Regions from separate parts of the Homo sapiens genome. Here all the other regions are linked to region 2. Evidence: promoter capture Hi-C in 16 types of primary human blood cells and fetal thymus (Javierre and others, 2016). All regions are on one chromosome and are shown on one strand. The core of a region is centred on a gene start or on the middle of the fragment in contact, and the rest is flanking DNA. Distances in the headings are between cores, read along the strand shown.

Evidence for each region. The method cuts DNA at HindIII sites, captures the fragments that hold promoters and counts their contacts. A CHiCAGO score of 5 or more calls a contact.
Region 1: a fragment that was not itself captured here is called in contact with the fragment with the promoter of COLCA1 in region 2 in 1 of 17 cell types (total B cells); the score reaches 6.4 in total B cells.
Region 3: a contact is called between a fragment that was not itself captured here and the fragment with the promoter of COLCA1 in region 2, in 2 of 17 cell types (naive B cells and total B cells). The highest score is 9.7, in naive B cells.

Annotation. Positions count from the first base shown.
Region 1 is chr11:110,432,986-110,435,685 of GRCh38, forward strand. The region is part of intron 1 of FDX1 (ferredoxin 1); the gene reads left to right. Among named protein-coding and RNA genes, the nearest start is that of FDX1, 4.4 kb to the left of the region's middle. The HindIII fragment of the contact is 2,203 bases long and covers 350-2,552 here.
Region 2 is chr11:111,303,714-111,306,413 of GRCh38, forward strand. COLCA1 (colorectal cancer associated 1) reads right to left here and starts at 1,335. Exons shown (of 2, transcript NR_169237.1): 1 at 1,115-1,335. It overlaps POU2AF3 (POU class 2 homeobox associating factor 3), which reads left to right. Exons shown (of 5, transcript NM_001271458.2): 3 at 1,215-1,269; 4 at 2,681-2,700. The HindIII fragment of the contact is 13,879 bases long and covers 1-2,700 here.
Region 3 is chr11:110,450,972-110,453,671 of GRCh38, forward strand. All of the region lies in intron 2 of FDX1 (ferredoxin 1), which reads left to right. Among named protein-coding and RNA genes, the nearest start is that of FDX1, 22 kb to the left of the region's middle. The HindIII fragment of the contact is 3,804 bases long and covers 1-2,700 here.

The sequences.
Region 1 (2,700 bases), core at 201-2,700, 870 kb before region 2:
GTTGAATTCTACTATGTGTTACGTATTTTGCATACATTGTCAGAACTATAAGATTAATGTTGTCCAATTTTATAGAAGAGGAGGCTGATGTAAGAGATTTCGAATTCCTTTGCTGTAAGCTTAGCTCTAGAGTGCTTCAGAAGAACAGCAACGCTGAAACCTCTGGCTTTCAGTAGTGTGTATAAATGATGGAATTCTTTCTAATGTGCTTCCTGTAGCTTTAGCTACCAGGCATTCGTTGATGTCAAATCTCTAGACTTCTCTGCTGGGCTCAGACCCATACCCATATTGCCATCTGGTGTTTGGACATTCTCATCTGGCTTTTTCATTATTAAATTCAGCAGGTCTAAGCTTCAACTTATTTCTGTCTTCCCCAAAGTTCCTTTGGTTCCTGTCTTAAACCTAGGTTAAATGGTACCACCTAATTGTGTGAGCTGGAAATCCCAATGTTTTTCTTTCCGCTTTTCAGTTTATCTTATGTAGATGGTCACTAAAACCTTTTGGTCTACCTCCTGGATGTCTGTTAAGTCACTGCATTCTCTGTCCCTGATTAGTTTATGCTGTTTTGATAACCTCCAAAGTGGCCTCCCTGCCTCTAGGGTATTTTCATTCTCAGCCATTGTACTTTGAAAAAAATGGCAGTTATTCATGTTGAAAATTATGAATAATATGTGGGAATACTAGTTTTAAAGCATGTTTTGGCTGTGAAAAGAAGTTGGAGAGCGCAGGCCCTTTTGAGGAACATTCTGGTACACACACACACACCCTTTTGATGAGTTTTAATGAATAGAATCCTGTTTTTTTTCCCAGTGTTATAATATTAGGGAGGGCATTATCCCAGTGGGGCTTCAGTTGCCTCATTTGTGAAATGGGATCACTGGACTTGATAACTTTCGAGATAGTTATGGCTCTGAAATTATTTAATTCTGAGTTTTACTTAAAGATTTGTTTGATGGGCTATTGCCATCTACTGGTAGTAATAAGAATAACAACTCATTATTTTAAGTTGAAGAGAATCTTTTCAAGTGTGAGGTAAAAATTAAAATGACCAATGGTGGAGGAATAAGGATCTAGTTTTTAGTATAATGGCTTCTCAAATTTTGGAGGGATGTTTGTGAGAAGTGAAGGAAATTTAAGTCAGCTAGCTGATAGTTAACATACTATCTTAAAAAAACATGTAAGGAGGTATTTATCTTACAGATTCAAACAAATAAACTTTTTCTAGTCCCTTTGATTTGTAAGTATACAATGTGGACTGAAATGAGATGTCAAATACGCAGAAAACTACTAAACAACATCTCTCAGCAGTAGTATTCTATGTAGCACTGGAAAAGCAATCGCCCTATTGATTTTTTTTTTTTTTTTTTTGGAGACAGAGTTTCACTCTGCCACCCGGGCTGGAGTGCAGTGGTTTGATCTCGGCTCACTGCAACCTCTGCCTTCCGGGTTCAAGCGATTCTCCTGCCTCAGCCTCCCGAGTAGCTGGGATTACAGGCATGTACCACCATGCCTAATTTTTGTATTTTTAGTAGAGACGGGGTTTCGCCATGTTGGCCAGGCTGGTCTTGAACTTCTGACCTCAGGTAATCCGCCCGCCTTGGCCTCCCAAAGTGTTGGAATTACAGGCGTGAGTCACCATGCTCGGCCATGATTTGCTTTTTAGAAGCTCACTACAACCCTGGTCTAGTCTTTTATGGACACATTCATGTTTTTCAGAGAGCTGTGTGATGACTTTTTTTGTTTTTTTTTTTTTTTTTTTTTTTGAGACAGGGCCTTGAGCTGTTGCCCAGGTTAGAGTGCAATGGTGTAATCACGGCTCACTGCAGCCCTGAACTTCTGGGATCGGGTGATCCACCTCAGCCCCATGAGTAGCTGGTACTATGGGCAAATACCACCATGCCTTTTATTTTTCATACACCTACAACCATCTCATTTTTATTTTTATTTTTTGTAGCAATAGGGTCTCTCTGTGTTGCTCAGGCTGGTCTCAAACTCCTGGGCTCAAGCAGTCCCCTGCCTCGGCCTCCCAAAGTGCTAGGAGTACAGGTATGAGCCACCACACTTGGCCTTTTCTTTTTTAAATGACAGGGTCTTGCTGTGTTGCCCAGGCTGGAGTGCAGTGGTGCAATCATATCCCATTGCAGCCTCTTCCTCCTCCTGGGCTCAAGGGATCCTCCCGTTTCAGCCTCCCAATTAGCTGGGACTACAGATCACATCACCACACCTGGCTAATTATTTTATTTTTTGTAAAGATGGGATCTTGCCATGTTGCCCAGGCTGGTCTCAAACTTCTGGCGTCAAACAATCTTCCCACTTCAGCTTCTCGAAGTACTGGGGTTACAGGTGCAAGCTACTGCACTGGCTTGTATGAGAGTAAAATAGAGTTCATGAGTGATAATAATTGCCAAATGTTTTATAACTGTGACTATTAGGGAGACATATACTGAGGCCACCAGGTGGCGTTGACCAGGTAGTCATTGCCATTTCCTGTAAGGTAGTAGAGCTTATTACCTGGTAGGTGGGTAGATATATATGCCTTTGATTTCCAAATAAGCTTTGGAAAGAAAAGAAAATACCTTCGGCTAGGCATGGTGGCTCAGGCCTGTAATCTCAGAGTTTTAGGAGGCCAAGTTGAGAAGATGGCTTGAGGCCAGGAATTTGAGACCAGCTTGAGCAACATGGTGGCACCCCGTCACTACA
Region 2 (2,700 bases), core at 85-2,584:
TCAAAATTAATACTGCCTCCTGTTTCAGCAGTGGCTGCCTGCACAGCTCTCCCTGTGGCTCAGAGTATGGGAGTGAGTATGCCCTGTAACCCAAAAGAGGTGTGGTGAGCTCGGCTTCCCAGCACAGAATCACAGAGCAATACGGGTACCTTTAAACTTTAAAGCCACACCTGAAATTTAAAAAAAAAAAAAAAATCCTAAATTACTCAGTATAATTATTAATTCAACTGAAAAATGCAGGCTGCTTTACTTTGAATAGTTAAAAAGAGCAGTCTCATAAACTTTTAAGTATTTAAATACAGTAGTTTAAATAAAAGCAACTTTTATAGATAGTAGTACAAAACATACAAAGTACTGGAATAATTCCCGACCATTAACTAGAATGAAAGTAGGTTCCAACTCACCAACCACAGCTTTAAGAAAATATTTTCTATTTTAATATTTCATGTATACTAAGAACATGTGAATATTTTTAGCTACTCAGAATTAACAAAATTAAGAATTGTGTTCTTTGGGGAAACGACTCCCTAAGGCTAAGTAGCCAGATGGTATATGAAATTTTTGAGAAAAATAATTGACTAAGCCATAGATAGTTGAGATTAAATAAATGTTAGTCCTTAATAATTTTAAATCGAATAGTTTAATAGGAAGCCTTTTGCTGCATTTTCTCAAACTGTTACATTTTTACCACATAAAATTATTTACATTAATTTTTTACTAAAAATTAATCACTTTTAAAATTTAAGTAGAAGAATCTGATATTAGGAAAAAAACTCCCCAAGCAAGCAAACATAAATATTGGATCTAGATAAAACATAATATTGGTTGTATTTAAGAAGTCTGTTTTATGATTCGATTTCAGGTTTTCATTGTTCCAATGCAATTTTCCAGATTGAATCTTAAAAGGATTATAAACGTCAAAAGGCATTTTAAATTCTACACGGACTTAATACACCTACCGCAATTCTATGCACCTGTCTTTCAAATTCTATAAAATATTTGTTGACACTTTCCCTTTCACTTGTTTTTTACAATATATTTTGTACAAAAATTTGTCAAACATTGAAAAAAAAAAAGAAAGCAACTTTTTCTGAGAAGGAAGAATCTGGCTTACCTTATAGCAGAAAGAAACATAGTCCTCATCAAAATGTCTTAGCTTTCCCTTCAGAGCATTTCTTTCAGCCTGCTTCACGGTGATATTCTTGCTTTGACAGCGGTCCGGAGGCAGCAGTGTCCACCTTTCAGACCCAGTTGCACCATCTTCTGCAGGTCAGTACAGCCAGCATTAACAGTTCCCTCAAACACTCTTTCAAAAGTCCATCTCAAAAGTCTTTCAGTCTTGATTCAGGGGTTAAGATAGGCACCACCATTTAATTGGAATCCAACCAATCAGAAGGTGAAAAAGGCATAGTCACTCCACATGCAAGCCCAGCAAGAAAACAAGCATAAATGTTGTCTTCATTTCTGAATTCTCTACTCTCTGCTATATTGTCTCAAGAGTTTGTTCTTCACATTTATTCCAGTTCCTCATCGCCAAGTAACTAAACTGAACTACAAAATCAGAATTGTTCTCAGGAACTTATCTTTTTTTAGTGCACTGTTAGATGGAATACAGAACATCCCAAGACACTCAAATAATGCCTTTGCTCTGTTCCTTTAGTTTCCAGCCGACAGGGGCTTCCCTCCCCTTCTCTGTTCCCAGAAAGCAGTTCAAACAAGTGTAGGTTTTCTCAGCCCAATAAGAATAACTCGATTACATAAACACTCCTACCTCTGCTACTCAACAGCTAAGAGTTTAAGGAGGTCGTATATAAGGAAACCTCTGCCTATGGCCTCTCCCCACTAAATGTGTCACCGTAGCTTCACCTTAAAGGAACTTGAGACCTCAAGAAGAACACAGTGTCCTTTAGTCCCTTTGATGAGCACACTCTAATCCTCTCTTCTTCCAGCATTTACAGATAATTATCACAAATTGGGCCTATTAATAATAAAATGGAAAAGGAGTAATGTTTACTGATTATCTTTGTTTGATGTTTAACAACTTACTTTGATCACATCATGATGTTAACATGTTCACTGAGAAAACATTTTTGCTTTTTGTACTTCCGAGCCAATAGTGTTAATTGGTACTCTATGTTCCTGGTTTCCATGATTATCATTTGCATTCTCATTTAAATCACTTCTCAAAATTCTCTCCTCCAAACTTAAGTTACTGAGTAAGAGTGAAAAGTTCAAAAAAGCAATCACCATAAGTCAAAAGAATTATTTCCCGTAGCATCAGAAGTTTTCTCAAAGCCTCAACAACTTTGTCAGTTACTTCTGAGAGGTTTACGTGAACTGCCGGTAGGGGCTGGATGTCCATGGTTTTACAGCCCAAGAAAGGGGAAGTTTGAGCCATTATTTGACTGTGACACTTGGACACAAATTGGGTCACCATCCTTTTATTTTTGCCCTAACCAGTTTTACAGCCAGTTTCCACATTATTAACCATGTTCATTTCCCTGGAGCTTGAATTAGCTAGGACAACTAAAGAGTCAAAATTGCATTCCCGTTTACTTTTCTGGATTTGTTAAGCCCCCTTTCCCCCTAGACATAGTAAATATTCAGAGTATAGATCTCCATTCAAATCTGTGTTTTGCAATTTTTATGCAAAAACCTGCCTTTTTCCTTTCTCCTCTAGGACTGTATTTTGAGCCTGAA
Region 3 (2,700 bases), core at 165-2,664, 850 kb before region 2:
CTTCATATACATCATATATTAGTATACCCATATTGTGATCAGCTGCAAGTTTTAGCCTTGTAGTTGTTGTTTGTTACTTTTATATCCTTTATTCTTTTATAGTTTTATAGGTTATCTTCCACTGTTTATTTTGTAGGGTTCTCTGTGTATATGAAAAGCCAAAAAAAAAAAAGCTCCCCATTTTGTGAATAGCTTTTGTTTCCATAATCTATTTTCAGGTCAGCTGCTTGTTATTTGGAATTTGTTTTCCCATAAAAAATAATGTTGGCTAAATTTTTGAGCCAACACACAGAACCTATTTCTTCACAACTGACTTAATCACCATTTATAGCTTGTTTTTTGGGATAAAATGCATTGCACCTTCTAACTCTTGTAATTGTAGCTGCTGCTGCTTTTCTTCTACTTTTTTAAAGAGACAGGGTCTCATGCCAGTCAGAATGGTGATTATTAAAAAGTCAAGAAACAACAGATGTGGTGAGGTTACAGAGAAATATGAACACTTTTACACTGTTGGTGGGAATGAAAATTAGTTCAACCATTGTGGAAGACAGTGTGGTGATTCCTCCAAGATTTAGAACTGGAAATACAATTTGACCCAGCAATCTCATTACTGGGTATATACCCAAAGGAATATAAATCATTCTGTTATAAAAATACGTGCATGTATATGTTCATTGTAGCACTATTCACAATAGCAAAGACATAGAATCAACCCAAATGCCAATCAATGATAGGCTGGATAAAGAAAATGTACATATACACCATGGAATACTGTGCAGCCGTAGAAGGAACAAGATCATGTCCTTTGCAGGGACATGGATGGAGCTGGAAGCCATTATCCTCAGCAAACTAATGCAGGAACAGAAAACCAAATACCACATGTTCTCACTTACGTATACCACATTTTCTTTATCTCTTTATCACTTGAGAGATATTTGGGTTGTTTCCACCTCTTGGCAATGGCCAATTGGTTTTTGACAAAGGTGCAAAGCAATTAGTGAAGAAAGGGTATTCTTTTCAACAAATGATGTTGAATCAATTGGATATTCATGTGGGAAAAAAAAGGTGCATCAACCTAAACCTCACATCTTATAAAAACATGAATGCAAAATTGACTTAGATCTAAATGTAGAACTTAGAACTGTAAACTCCTAAAAGAAAGAACAAGAAAAAATCTTTAGGACCTGTGGGTAGGTAGGCAGAGAATTCTTAGACATGACTGGAAAAGAATTTATATATAAATTCTTATATATAAGAAAAATAAATTAGAGTTCATCAAAATTAAAAACTTTTGTTCTTCCAAAGACACTGTTAAGGGACTGAAAAGCCAAACTACAGACTGGGAGAAAATACTTGTAAATCACATATCCAGTGAAAGGACTTGTATCCCGGCTATGTAAAAAGCTCTCCAAACTTAACAGTAAGAAAACAACACAATTAAAAAAATGGGCAAAAGATATGAACAGACACTTCACCAAGGAGAATTTAGAGATGGCAAATAAGCTCATAAAAAGATTGAGGGGCATCTGGACCTGAACTTGTATGTGTGAATGAGTTTGTGTTGTTTAGAGTTTCTCCTAGAGGCACAAGAGACTAATGGTGATGTCATACTCCCAAGTGGCTTTGGGAAAAAAATGAGGCAAAGTTAAAAAAAAAAAAAGATATTTTACACCTTTAATTTCTTGGAGAAAATGTGAATGAAAGTCACAATGTGACACCACCAGATACCTACTAGAAACAAACCATGGGACATTCAAACAGTGGAATGCTTCTTAGCAATGAAAGGGAGCAAACTATAGATACATGCAACACATTGGATGAATCTCAAAGGCATTGTGTTGAGTGAAAGAAGCCAGTTTCAGTCAAACACTGTATGATTCTATTTATATGAACATTCTGGAAAAGACTAAACCACAGTGATAGAGAACAGATCAGTGGTTACCAGGGGTTAGGGATGAGGTAGACTGTGACAACAAAGCAACAGCAAAAGGGAATTAAAAGTTTTAGGCTGAGGAAGCTGCTCTGTACCCTCAGTGTGGTGGTGGTTACACAAGTCTATACATACATTAAAACTCATAGAACTGGCCAGGTGCGGTGGCTCACGCCTGTAACCTCAGCACTTTGGGAGGCTGAGGCAGGCAGATCACCTGAGGTCAGGAGTTTGAGACCAGCCTGGACAACATGGTGAAACCCCGTCTCTGCTAAAAATACAAAAATTAGCCAGGCATGGTGGCTCATGCCTGTAATCTCAGCTACTCCAGGAGGCTGAGGCAGGAGAATCACTTGAACCCGGGAGGCGGAGGTTGCCGTGAGCCGAGATCGCACCATTACACTCCAGTCCAGGCAACAAGAGTAAGACTGTCTGAAAAAACAAACAAACACAACAAAACAAAAAGCCTCATAGAACTGAACACTGAAAGAGACAACTAGTAATTGGAGGACATAGCTCTCATGAAATTGGCAATATTTTATGAGATAAAGAAAACAGAAAAGGAGTAACTTTTTTTTTTTTTCTTAAATAGCCTCTTGTTCTTCTTACAGTTTTAGGCTCTTTTTTATACCCAAATATTTACCTTATTTTTGCAGGTTTTTTTTTTTCCTCCTAAATACCCTTTTTGGTTAGGTGTCTCCAATATTCTCTAAAATTCTTTAATTTTTAATAAACCGTATAGGTTAAATCTCAAAACAAACTCTAGAAAA